Linked DNA regions of Homo sapiens: regions 1, 2 and 4 are each linked to region 3. Evidence: promoter capture Hi-C in human tissues and cell types (Jung and others, 2019). All regions are on one chromosome and are shown on one strand. Each heading gives the region's core, a stretch centred on a gene start or on the middle of the fragment in contact. The rest is flanking DNA. Distances are from core to core; before and after follow the strand shown.

Region 1 (2,737 bases), core at 146-2,645, 150 kb before region 3:
GGCTTGGTGGTGCATGCCTGTAATTCCAGCTACTCTGGAGGCTGAGGCAGGAGAATCGCTTGAACCTGAGAGGCAGAGGTTGCAGTGAACTGAGATCGCACCACTGCACTCCAGCCTGGGCGACAGAGAGAAACTCCGTCTCAAAAAAAAAAAAAATAAAACAAAGCAAAACAACAACAACAAAACACACACACACACACACAAGGCAGGTAAAAATTATAGATGGCTTGCACCAAGTAAACACTAAACATAAAGGCAATGGAGAGGCCAGAAAAGACTCAGGACAAGGACTAATAAAATCTACCCACAGTCGTGGGATATACGGAAAGCATCCTGACTACAAGGATAAAAATAGCGTCTGTGCAAATGGACTCACATCAGGAGAAACTGCTAGAATCTGTCTACCTCCAAATGCCTTGTCTACCTCCAAATGAGGGTGGATTTCACAGGATTTGAGACAAGAGATGGAGACCTGAGTTGTCTGGCCATGTGGCAGACCTGGTGGCTCTAGTGGGGTGCCCTGGGGAGGAACGTCCTTCCACATACATATTTACAAAAATACCTCCTAAGAACTAAAATTAGGAACTTTCATCACCAATACTTGCTCATACCTAACTTCTCGCTTCTCAGTATCATTTTTTCTTTTTTTTTTTTTTGAGTCTTACTGTGTTGCTCAGGCTGGTCTTAAAACTCCTGGGCTCAAGTAATCCTCCTTCCTCGGTGTCCTTAGTAGTTAGAACTACAGATACGGACCATTACACCCAGTTCTCAGCACCATGTTTAATAGTTAAAGTGCTAACCTAGCACCCCCTCAGAACATAAGAGTGTCTCCATTTTTCACTAATGACAATTATGATTATCAGAATGTTTCATGTCTGTTTAAGAACTTACAGATCATGAACACTCTGATGTACATCATTCTCATTTGCTCCTCCCCCTCCTCCTCCTCATACCCCCTTGGGAAGTAGAGAAAATAGAACTTGAATGAATTTGTCTTGTATGGGAAAACCCAGAGCCCAGAGCCCAGCGGTTGAGTAACCCCAAGGCCCTGTAGTAATAAGGGGGCACAGTCAAGCTTAAGGAGTCTGGCATTGCTTCCATCACACGCTCCTAAAAGACAACCACTAGAGAATTCTTCAAGTCAATGGGAAGAACATTCAAGTCCCACAGCTACAGAGCTGTGGCCACACTGACACTCATCCAGACAGCTGATATTTACCAGTAGAAAGCTGGGCCGCTGCAGGTGAGGGAACGCCATAAAAGCCTCCAGTGGAGAGTTGAAAATGGCCTTCTTAGCAAACCACTGTGGAAAAACAGAGACAAAATCTCAACATCTGCAGCACAGCAGAATCTTTTTATTTTTCTAGAGACAGGGTCTCATTCTGTTGCCCAGGAGAGAATGCAATAGCACGATCATAGCTCACTGCAACCTCAAACTCCTGGGTTCAAGCAATCCTTCCCCCTGAGCCTCCTGAGTAGCTGGAACTACAGGCACACACCACCATGCCTGGCTAATTTTCTTCTTATTTTCTTTTTTGTAGAGACAGGGTCTCGCTATGTTGCCCAGGCTAGTTTCAAATTCCTGGCCTCCACTGGCCCTCCTGCCTTGGCCTCTTAAGTGCTGGGATTACAGGTGTAAACCACTGCACCTGGCCCTAACAAAATATTACATAGTTTCACAATGCCCAGGAGAACATTTGTGTAACTCAACATGCATTACATTATCGATTCTCATGTCTTCTTTATTTATTTGTAGAGACAGGGTCTTGCTTTCCCACTCAGGCTGGAGTGCAGTGGTATGATCATAGCTCACTGCAACCTCAGACTCCTAAGCTCAAGCGATCCTCCTGCTTCAGCCTCCCAAATAGCTGGGACTACAGGCACACACCACCAGGCCCTGCTAATTTTTATATTTGTTGTAGAGATGTGGTTACATCATGTTGCCCAGGCTGGTCTTCAGCTCCAGGGCTCAAGTGATCTACTTGCCTCAGCCTCCCAAAGTACTGGGATTACAGGCGTGAGCCACCACGCCCGGCCAGCAATTCCCACATTTTACAGAAACACCATTCGCATGCAGCCCACAGTGGCCAGCTTCAGAGCCAAGTCTGTGGTACTGAATCCTTGGTAATGCTTGTACAGCACTTGCTGTATGCCAGGACTTGCTCTATACACCACACACACTGTCAGTCCCCAGGAGGGGAATGTGGTATGTGATGCTTCATAAACACATTGAACTCTTTCTGCCAAGGAACAGCCATTAACACCTTGGGGTTACTTGCAACTCACCTGTGGACTGTTGGTCTGAGCTATTGTCCATCACTTGCAACTCAGTGTACACAGGTTCATCAGAGCTGGTCCCAAAAGCAAGTCCAAGCGCTGGAGAGCATGAGTGGGAAATCTCACTTCCACCTCGGATGGAGAAAAACTTCAGCAAGATTGTCATTTTATCTTTCCGACCCAGATGGACTCCATCTTGACTCAAAGACAACCAGAACATCACCAAGCATCTCCTACAGGGCAGGCTTGGTACTAGGTGGTTTTATTTAGATTATTTCATGGAATGTTCAGGAGAATTGCTCCCTCTTCACTCCTGAATTCTTGATGCAGTTCTTCCACTTTCGCCCTTTCTTCTCGTCTCTGTCTCATTCAGCTCCCTCATTACAAACCTTCCAACTGGCTGGATGGCGCAGTTGCTCAACCAGCAGAGAGCACTGGGGTAGCCCCAAATAAATGTTCA
Region 2 (2,827 bases), core at 288-2,787, 220 kb before region 3:
AGGGGGCGGGAAGGGGGAGTCCGATGACTGCGCTTCTTCATCTGGTATTAAACTGCTTCCTGTTTTTACTTTTAGGACGAATACCTTTCTCTCGTGGCCAGGCTCATTATCCATTTTCGAGACATTCGTAAGTAAGATTTTGCATTTCTGGGTTGTTGAGATCTCTGTGAGAGGCCAGCCCTGACGCTGCCTCGGCAGAGCTTTCTGGGCAGGCCGTGGTGCCTGAGTCAGAAGGTCTGTGTCACCTCACTTGCTTCTGGGAAGTTCTTCACTGCCTTGCATTTGACTCCAGATCCCTCCATCCTCCCAGAGCCTTGGCCTCAAAAATGCTGATTCTAGCATCATGGAAATGCTGTCCTCAAAGTGGTCTAAACGGGTTGCTGCTTCACTTGCTCACTTAATCTCCCTTTTCATAGGGCTGTTGTTTTTACTTCTGGGAAGTTCTGTTTACCCTGGAACAGAAACTCTCTTCCCTAAAAGTTGATTTTATTGACCCATGGAGGCCAGAGACACTTAGGCATATTTTCCCTCCAGACTAGAAGCTTCTGAGGAGGACCTCCTGAGTCTGCACCCTGGCTCCCTGCTGTGCTGAGGGCCCCCGTGTTAACCTCACGTTGTGCCTCCTCTGATTCAGAGGGCCCAGTGTGGTTCTGTCAGCCAGGCAGTGGCCCCAGCTCTACAGAAATGAGTTGTCATTGCATCCTAGGGCCAGGGTCTTCGTGCTTGTGTGTGTTACGTGGAAGTATGTGGACACCAAGTGTTCCTGGATGGCCACAGCCTGCGAAGGAAACTGGGGCCAGCAGCTGCTCTGTGTTTTCAGCCAACAATGGCTCCTGCCCACTGCCGCTGCATAACCACCAGAGGCAGGCTTCTCTTGACACAGGCCTGTCGTTGGAGCATGTGCCTGGCGAGTCCTATTTCTATTCCCCTGTGGGTTAGGGACAGGCAGCTGTACCTTCAGTGTGTTGCTGGGTCAAAGGGAGACATTGAGCACTCCAGAGCCTGGTAGGTTTTGCTTCTTTCCACACTAACTTTTCACCAGAATGGCCAGCAAAGTGAACTTCACTGATCTCACTCTCTGTGGTGTTGGAAAGTCACTGGGATGTGTAAGAGGAGAAGGAGCAGCCCAGATGATCTGGCCCAGATGCGCTGGCAGACTCCGCATGTTCTGCTTTCAGGGACAGTGGCCTGGCTGGTGCACACAGTCCTGTGGGGCTCATGAGGTCATGGGAAGCAGCCGAGCAGGAGGCTCAGGGCCCCATGACTGCTACAGAAGTTCTCCGCTGGGCACTGGGGTCAGCTGGACTGGCTTCCAGCTGGCCGTGGACAGCCTCAGTTTCCTCATCTAGGTAACAGAGACACTGCCTCACCAGAGTGGGCTGCAAAGGGAGGCAGTGTCAAGTCTTGGCACCACTCCAGCCCCGCCGTGGGTTCCTGTAGTGTTCTATTATTTGTTTGCTCAGGGCTGAGCTGAGACTCTGGACCTGGGAAAAAGGAAAGCCAGAGTAGGCCCAGGGTCCCCAACCCCAGAGTGCTTCAGCCTTGGGGGCAGCTCCCTAAGGCCCCAGGTTGACCCTGGAGCTACTCTGCACCCTCTGCCCCCAGGTCTCTTGTGGGGTCAGCGCTGCCAAGAGTAGAAACACTTCCCCCAGTAGTGGGGAGTACTAGGAGCTCCGTGGGGATTAAGGCTTGGGCAAATGCCTACAGAACTGACCTACCCATGGAAATATGTGGTTATATAAAACTATGTTTACTTTCGTTTTTTTGTTTGTGTTTTCATATAGATAACAAGAAATCTCAAGCTTCCGTCAGTGGTAAGAGTTTTCCCTTTTGAGTTAAAGTTTCTCCCAACTTTGGATTTGAGGTGGCAAGAATGACATAGTGCATGCCTCATGTGCCTGGGTTAACCTGTCACTAGAGGAGAATGCTTGCGGAGAGAACTCTGGAGGGAGGAGGCTGACCAGCTGTGCCCTGACCTCTCCAGCCTTCGTCTTCCTGCAGACTGTGAAGTCGCATGATCCTCCCCATCCCGTTTCACACAAATGCTGCCTTTGCCCAGCAAAAAGATAAACACTCACAAAGCTATTAAGACATTATCCAAAAGTGTTGAGCTCTCTGGTAGAGAATTATTATGCTGTTTTCAGTGTAATAATATGTAGTAGCATTTCTGAGAAAATGCTGTGAATTCACTTTTTTAAGTTACAAAGTTTCTTTGTAAATTTAGAAATCTGGCTGGGTGCTGTGGCTCATGCCTGTAATCCCAACACTGTGGGAGGCTGAGGCAGGCAGATCAGTTGAGGTCAGGAGTTCAAGACCAGCCTGGCCAACATGGTAAAACCCCATCTCTACTAAAAATACAAAAATAGCCGGGTGTGGTGGCATGCGTTGTAGTCCCAACTACTCAGGAGGCTGAGGCATGAGAATCGCTTGAACCTGGGAGGCTGAGGTTGCAGTGAGTTGAGATCGTGCCACTGCACTCCAACCTGGATGACTGAGTGAGACTCCATCTCAAAAAAAAAGTTTAGAAATCCATATTTTTAAATTTCAGCGTTTATCACATGAGGGGAATTCTGTCAATTCAGCCTTGGTCTCTGCTGACTAAGCTGCAAGGGAAGGGGTTTAACAGATCCAGGCTGGCCAACTGCATTCTGCCATTGGGAAGGGAGTGCACTGACCTCACAGGCTGCACGCCACTGTCTGCCCTGCCCTAGACAGTAGAGCTGTACATGCCAGCTGTCTCTGCCCATGTGGGTCTCACCTCTCAGCCAGGACAGGGATTCTTGGCCAACTGGGGCTGAGCGGCAGCAAGGGCATGTGGCCAGAACAT
Region 3 (2,813 bases), core at 125-2,624:
TCCAGAATATTCTTAAAACTTTTTAGATCATAAAATTTAAAACACAAATTAAAAAACAAATTATCATAAGGCCGGGCACAGTGACTCATGCCTGTAATCCCAGCACTTTGCAAGGCTGAAGCAGGAGGATCACTTGAGCCCAAGAGTTCAAGACCAGCCTAGGCAACATAGTGAGACCCTGTCTCTACAAAAAAGTCAAAAGTTAGCTAGACATGGTGGTGTGCACCTGTATTCCCAGCTACTTGCAGGGCTGAGGTGAGGAGGATTGCTTCAGCTCGGGAGGTTGAGGCTGCAGTGAGCCAAGATCACGCCACTGCACTCCAGCCTGGGTAACAGAGTGAGACCCTGTCTCAAAAAACACATAGGGCCAGGCGTGGTGGCTCACGCATGTAATCCCAGCACTTTGGGAGGCCGAGACGGGAGGATCACTTCACTCCAGGAGTTCAACACCAGCCTGGCCAACATAGTGAAACCCCGTCTCTACTAAAAATACAAAAAATTAGTTGGACATGGTGGTGTGCGCCTGTAATCTCAGCCACTCAGGAGGCTGAGGCAGGAGAACGCTTGAACTTGGGAGACAGAGGTTGCAGTGAGCTGAGATCGCACCACTGCACTCCAGCATGGGCAGCAGCGCGAAACTCTGTCTCAAAACAAACAAACAAACAAACAAACACCCATAAACACAAAATGTATCACAGCCTCAGAGATCCCCACGAATGCCTAAGTGGCCCTGAATTTGGGAGGCACTGCTCAGTAATAGTCCTATCTGTCCCACAACAGACAGGAGTGCTGGGCTGCACCTACTGGCAACAAACACAGCAACCCTTGACTGAAGAAAGGTCCATGCCACAATCCCCTTATTCTGTAAGCCACTAATTTTGTCCTCTCTCCTCCACCTTTCACTGAGGAACGAGCTCTTGGAAGGACAGGGACACCCGCCTAGTAGCTGAGCCAGCCACATCAGTCCTGGAGAGCAGGTGGAGGGCAGATGCTGTGATCATCCCAGAAGAGAGGACACAGTTGGAGGCAGATGCATGGTCTCTACTTTCAGCTACCCTCAATGCAGCCTGGTCCCCAGAGGCCTGAAGAGCGCCTTGTTTATGTGGTGACCTCAAGAGGGGCTGCTCCTGCACCAAGGCTATGTGTGCATGCTAACACAGTAACCGTCATATACTCAAAGTGTCAGCTCTAAGAACTGGAGATGAGGAGCTGCAAGCCACTCTACAGTTATCAAAGGCACAGCTGAGGGGGTTTGTGCTGACCAAGCTGGTTGCCTGGTGTTTGGATTGGGACTTATTTACTTTGGAAAATATGCAGCAACAGCCCAGCACCAAAGTTCACATCAAAATCCCACTGATGACCTTGGCTGCTTTCATCTCTGAAGCGCCACTTCTCAGAAACACAGAGGTAAGTTGGGTTTCTAATGTTTCTGCTGATTATAAATTATTTTTGGTGTTTACGGATAGGCAACTGGTTCATTTTTCTAGCAAACTAAGAATTCAGAAGCTTTCTACACTGTTTTAGAAGTGGGAAATGGTTTCATTTTTCAGTGTGCCTATTATAAAATTGTGTCAGTTCCATTGTTGGGAGAGTTGACAAACTTAGAATAGGAGCTGTGGAATAGATGAAAATATTGTACTTATATTAAATTAATCGAATTGGATAACTGTCCTGTGATTATGTATGAGAATATCCTTGCTCTTGGGTATTTTCCCTGAAGTATTAGTATTAAAGGTTAGAGGGGCCGGGTGCAGTGGCTCACGCCTGTAATCCCAACACTTTGGGAGGCCGAGGCGGGTGGATCACGAGGTCAGGAGTTCAAGACCAGCCTGACCAACATGGTGAAGCCAAGTCTCTACTAAAAATACAAAAATTAGCTGGGCGTGGTGGCACGCGCCTGTAATCCCAGCTACTCAGGAGGCTGAGGCAGGAGAATCGCTTAAACCCGGGAGGCAGAGGTTGCAGTGAGCGGAGATCGTGCCACTGCACTCCAGCCTGGACAACAGAGTTAGACTCCGTCAAAAAAAAAAAAAAAAAGAAGAAAAAAGAAAAAATGTTAGAGGAACAAGATATAGGAGACCTACTCTCAAATGGTCTAGAAGAAAAAATGTGTATGTGCATGCCTGTGAGAACACACACGTACGTACACACACACACAGATAATGACAGGGCAAAGGTTCCAAAATTTTAAACCTGGTAAATCTCGGTACGGGTATACAGGAGTTGTTCTACTACACTATTCTTTCAACATTTTTGGAAGTTTGAACTTACTTCAAAATAAAAAGTTTTCCAAACTTTAGGCAGTTACTTCTCTCCCATTCTGCCTGCTCTGTTGGGCCTGGAGACCATACACCAGGAGGGATGACGGTTTATCAAGTGTTATGCTCTGATGCGTGACTGAAAAGGCCAACCCAGCTCTGGCAATTAGCAAGAAAGCACAATATGAAGTTCCCAGGAAAAAAAAAAAGCAAAACAAACTTTTGAATGATTTATCTTTAAAATATATTGTTTCTCTTCAAACAGTAATCTGGATTTAATCACAACCTAGTGATAGTTTTTAAACGTCTTCTACAATGTTTGTTATACTAAATAGCAAAACATCAGGAAGATTTACCTTCAGATCTTTAATTTCAATCCATAAAAGATATCAGAGATATTTTCTCCTTCCTCTGGTAAGGGAATGACGAAAACTATTTTTGGCTTTTTATCAGATAATGTGGGAACAGGGTATAAGAAGTTTCCAAATATAACTTCTGAATACCGGGATAAAACATGCATGTCTTTACTCTGCCACTCTATCTGGCCTCAGATAC
Region 4 (2,750 bases), core at 188-2,687, 200 kb before region 3:
CCCCTGGGTTACCCCAGATGTGCCATTCACATAGTTACTGACTGGAACTTAGTTTCTTTGGCAGGGACTTCCTTTTTAGTAGTTGTTGAATTACAGCGGGAGGAAGTGCCTGGAATCTGCTGGTAGAAAGGCTTTGGTGAAAGAGCTCTCCAGAGGAGCGGAAGTTGGGGGTCAGGAATTAGGTTGTGTGGCTGTGGTGGAAAGGAGGCCAGTGTGGGCAGAAGCCAGGGTGCAGTTCCCCATGGCCTGGAGGCTGTGAGTTCCACGACCTGCTCACATGCTGCTGGTGTCTCCTTGACTAGACCCCTTTGGGTTCTGCACTCTTGTCTGCTAAAACTGCTTCTCCTCCTTTCCCATAGCCTCTGGCACAGTATCCACTGGGTTCACAGAATCAGGTTGGGTTGCTGTATGTGGAGGAATGACTTTAGTAGCAGCATGTAGGACTGATTTTTATAAACACAAAAAGTCCCCAATGTTTTCAGTGTGCGATATGTGCCAGGCCTTGAGCTAAGCTCTTTGTGTACAGAGCCTCACTGTTTCTTGTTGTAGCAGGTCATAGTTTGAGCATTTAGCCCCTTTTACAGACTAAGAGTGCCCCCAGGGAGCCACCAAGTCAGGATCGAGGGCTCAAGTGAAACCCTTATGCCTTGGCCTCTCAGCAGGATTCTTCTGGAAACTCCTCACTCCCCTTCCTGCTGGGCTGATGACCTGGCTTCTCCTTCTTGTTTACTGGGCACTCCTGGGTGGGCTCCCTCCATGCCCCCACAAGACCAGGCTCTGTCCTGGGCTTTGGCTTGCCCATACTCTGTTGTGGGCTGGCCACTCCCCACACCCAGCTGCTGGTGTTTCCACCTAGACTTCTCACAGGCAGCCCCTCCCTCCCTCCCTCCCTCCTTCCCACCAGTTCCCAAACCCACTCAGTCTTTCCCTCCCCAGCCTTCCCTGGCCCTTAGATTAAGTCTGCCCTGAGTTATGCCAGCTAATAGGTCTCTCTCTCTCTAGAAGCTTCCAACCCCCAAAGGCAAGGAGGTAAGGTGGAGCAGAGGAAGGATAGAGAAATATATGATGAAGCTGAAAAAGTTATTGCCTTGGAATAAATGCCATGGAGAATTCTGGTTTGTCCTCATTGCACTGTGTGGGGTGAGAGCGCTCTCATGGGAAGATGCTGGCTAACTGCACACAGATTTAATCACCAGGCCCCGCCCATTCGCACTGGCAGTGAGAGGCACACCCCTGAACCTTTGGGGTTGTTCACTGAGGACAAACGCGGCAGCATTTAGAAAGTATTCCTCGTCCCGGCAGTAGACAAAAGCCACAGGATTTATGGAAAGAGGAAGGAAGGCACAGAACTGGGGCAAGGTTCTGGTTTTGTTCTGTTATTTTGTTGTCATTGTTACTGTTTGTTTTTCTTTTTTTGAGACAGAGTCTCGCACTTGTCCCCCAGGCAGGAGTGCAATGGCGCACTCCTGGCTCACTGCAACCTCCACCTCCCAGCTTCAAGCGATTCTCCTGCCTCAGCCTCTCGAGTAGCTGGGACTACAGGCGCCTGCCACCACATCTGGCTAATTTTTGTATTTTTAGTAGAGATGGGGTTTCACCATGTTGGCCAGGCTGGTCTTGAACTCCTAACCTTAGGTGATCCGCCCGCCTCGGTCTCCAAAACTGTTGAGATTACAGGTGTGAACCACTGCGCCCAGCCTTGTACTGTGTTTTTAAAGCAGGTTTGTTCATGCTTGTTAGCTGCAAGAAAGGAAACTGGAAGGAGTTGAGGGAGGGAGAAAAGCGAATAGAGGGACACCCTGGAGTGGAAGCCTCCCTACTGCCCAGGCAGCTGCTCTGCAGCCCTCTCTGGTCCTGGCCTTCCCCGCAGAGGGCCCTCCCCAGCTCAGCCCTCTACGTCCGGCTGCAGTACCAGGCTCTTGGTACAGTCTCCCACACCTGGCTGTGGGCCAGCCTTGGGGACGTGAGGCATGCTGGGCCCCGTGTACCAAGGGCATTCACCTGACCACACCAGGTGGCTCCAGAGGTGTGCCTCTGCTTTTGTGTCAGTATCTTTCAATCCAGTCCCTTCCGAGAAAAAGAGAGCTTATCTCAGGAACGTATCTGTTGATCTCACCAGGAATTGCCCCACTGTGTCCCATCTGAGCTCTCAGGGGCCAGAACCTGCTGTCTCCAGTGTGTCCAGATGGCCACTCTGTGGCCACTGTCCCTCCAGCCACTTGCCCTCAGCAGTCAGCAGGACACAGTCTGGAGACTACACTGCCCATTTGCTCTTGCTCTTTCCTTGTGGCAACAAATTAGGTCCAAGAAAACAGGTGGAGCTGAAAGAGGGAATGTACGTGCCCCATGGGCTCTTCTCCAGAGGGCAGGGCCCAGGCTCCCTCCCTCTGTCTTGACGGCTCATGGCTGCATCTTCCTGTTACGGTGGGCATGCCTCACGGACTCAGGCTACCAGGTCAAGCAGGATTCTGTGCTGGGTGCATTCTGGACACAGTGCTCAGCACGGGGGCCCAGGGGGTGGCATGGCCCATGCCACAATCCTCCCTTGGCAGATGTAAGCAGGCAGTGTCTTTCTCACTAGGGGCTTGTCCTTTGACTAGAGAGGCACTGTTGCCTCCCTGTTCCCTGCTCCAATCCCAGACCTGACATGAGACCAAGGACTGGGAGGTTTCTTTCTCGCCTCTCTGGCTGCCTCCCCAGAGCCTAGAGCCTGTCTTTGGATGAGTCTTTGCAGGGGCTGCTTCTCATCC

What was found. The method cuts DNA at HindIII sites, captures the fragments that hold promoters and counts their contacts. A contact is called where the count stands out against the background at its distance.
Region 1: a fragment that was not itself captured here is called in contact with the fragment with the promoter of SERPIND1 in region 3 in 2 of the 25 tissues and cell types used here (IMR-90 fibroblasts and lymphoblastoid cells).
Region 2: a contact is called between a fragment that was not itself captured here and the fragment with the promoter of SERPIND1 in region 3, in 1 of the 25 tissues and cell types used here (stomach).
Region 4: a fragment that was not itself captured here is called in contact with the fragment with the promoter of SERPIND1 in region 3 in 2 of the 25 tissues and cell types used here (dorsolateral prefrontal cortex and lymphoblastoid cells).

The regions. Positions count from the first base shown.
Region 1 is chr22:20,624,877-20,627,613 of GRCh38, forward strand. It overlaps the pseudogene SMPD4P1. Among named protein-coding and RNA genes, the nearest start is that of MED15, 120 kb to the left of the region's middle. The HindIII fragment of the contact is 4,060 bases long and covers 1-2,737 here.
Region 2 is chr22:20,551,361-20,554,187 of GRCh38, forward strand. MED15 (mediator complex subunit 15) reads left to right here. Exons shown (of 18, transcript NM_001003891.3): 3 at 76-127; 4 at 1,785-1,814. Among named protein-coding and RNA genes, the nearest start is that of MED15, 45 kb to the left of the region's middle. RefSeq lists enhancers at 1-35, 2,783-2,827. The HindIII fragment of the contact is 5,082 bases long and covers 1-2,827 here.
Region 3 is chr22:20,772,739-20,775,551 of GRCh38, forward strand. SERPIND1 (serpin family D member 1) reads left to right here and starts at 1,375. Exons shown (of 5, transcript NM_000185.4): 1 at 1,375-1,407. The region is part of intron 19 of PI4KA (phosphatidylinositol 4-kinase alpha); the gene reads right to left. The HindIII fragment of the contact is 14,489 bases long and covers 1-2,813 here.
Region 4 is chr22:20,576,526-20,579,275 of GRCh38, forward strand. All of the region lies in intron 9 of MED15 (mediator complex subunit 15), which reads left to right. Among named protein-coding and RNA genes, the nearest start is that of MED15, 70 kb to the left of the region's middle. The HindIII fragment of the contact is 7,226 bases long and covers 1-2,750 here.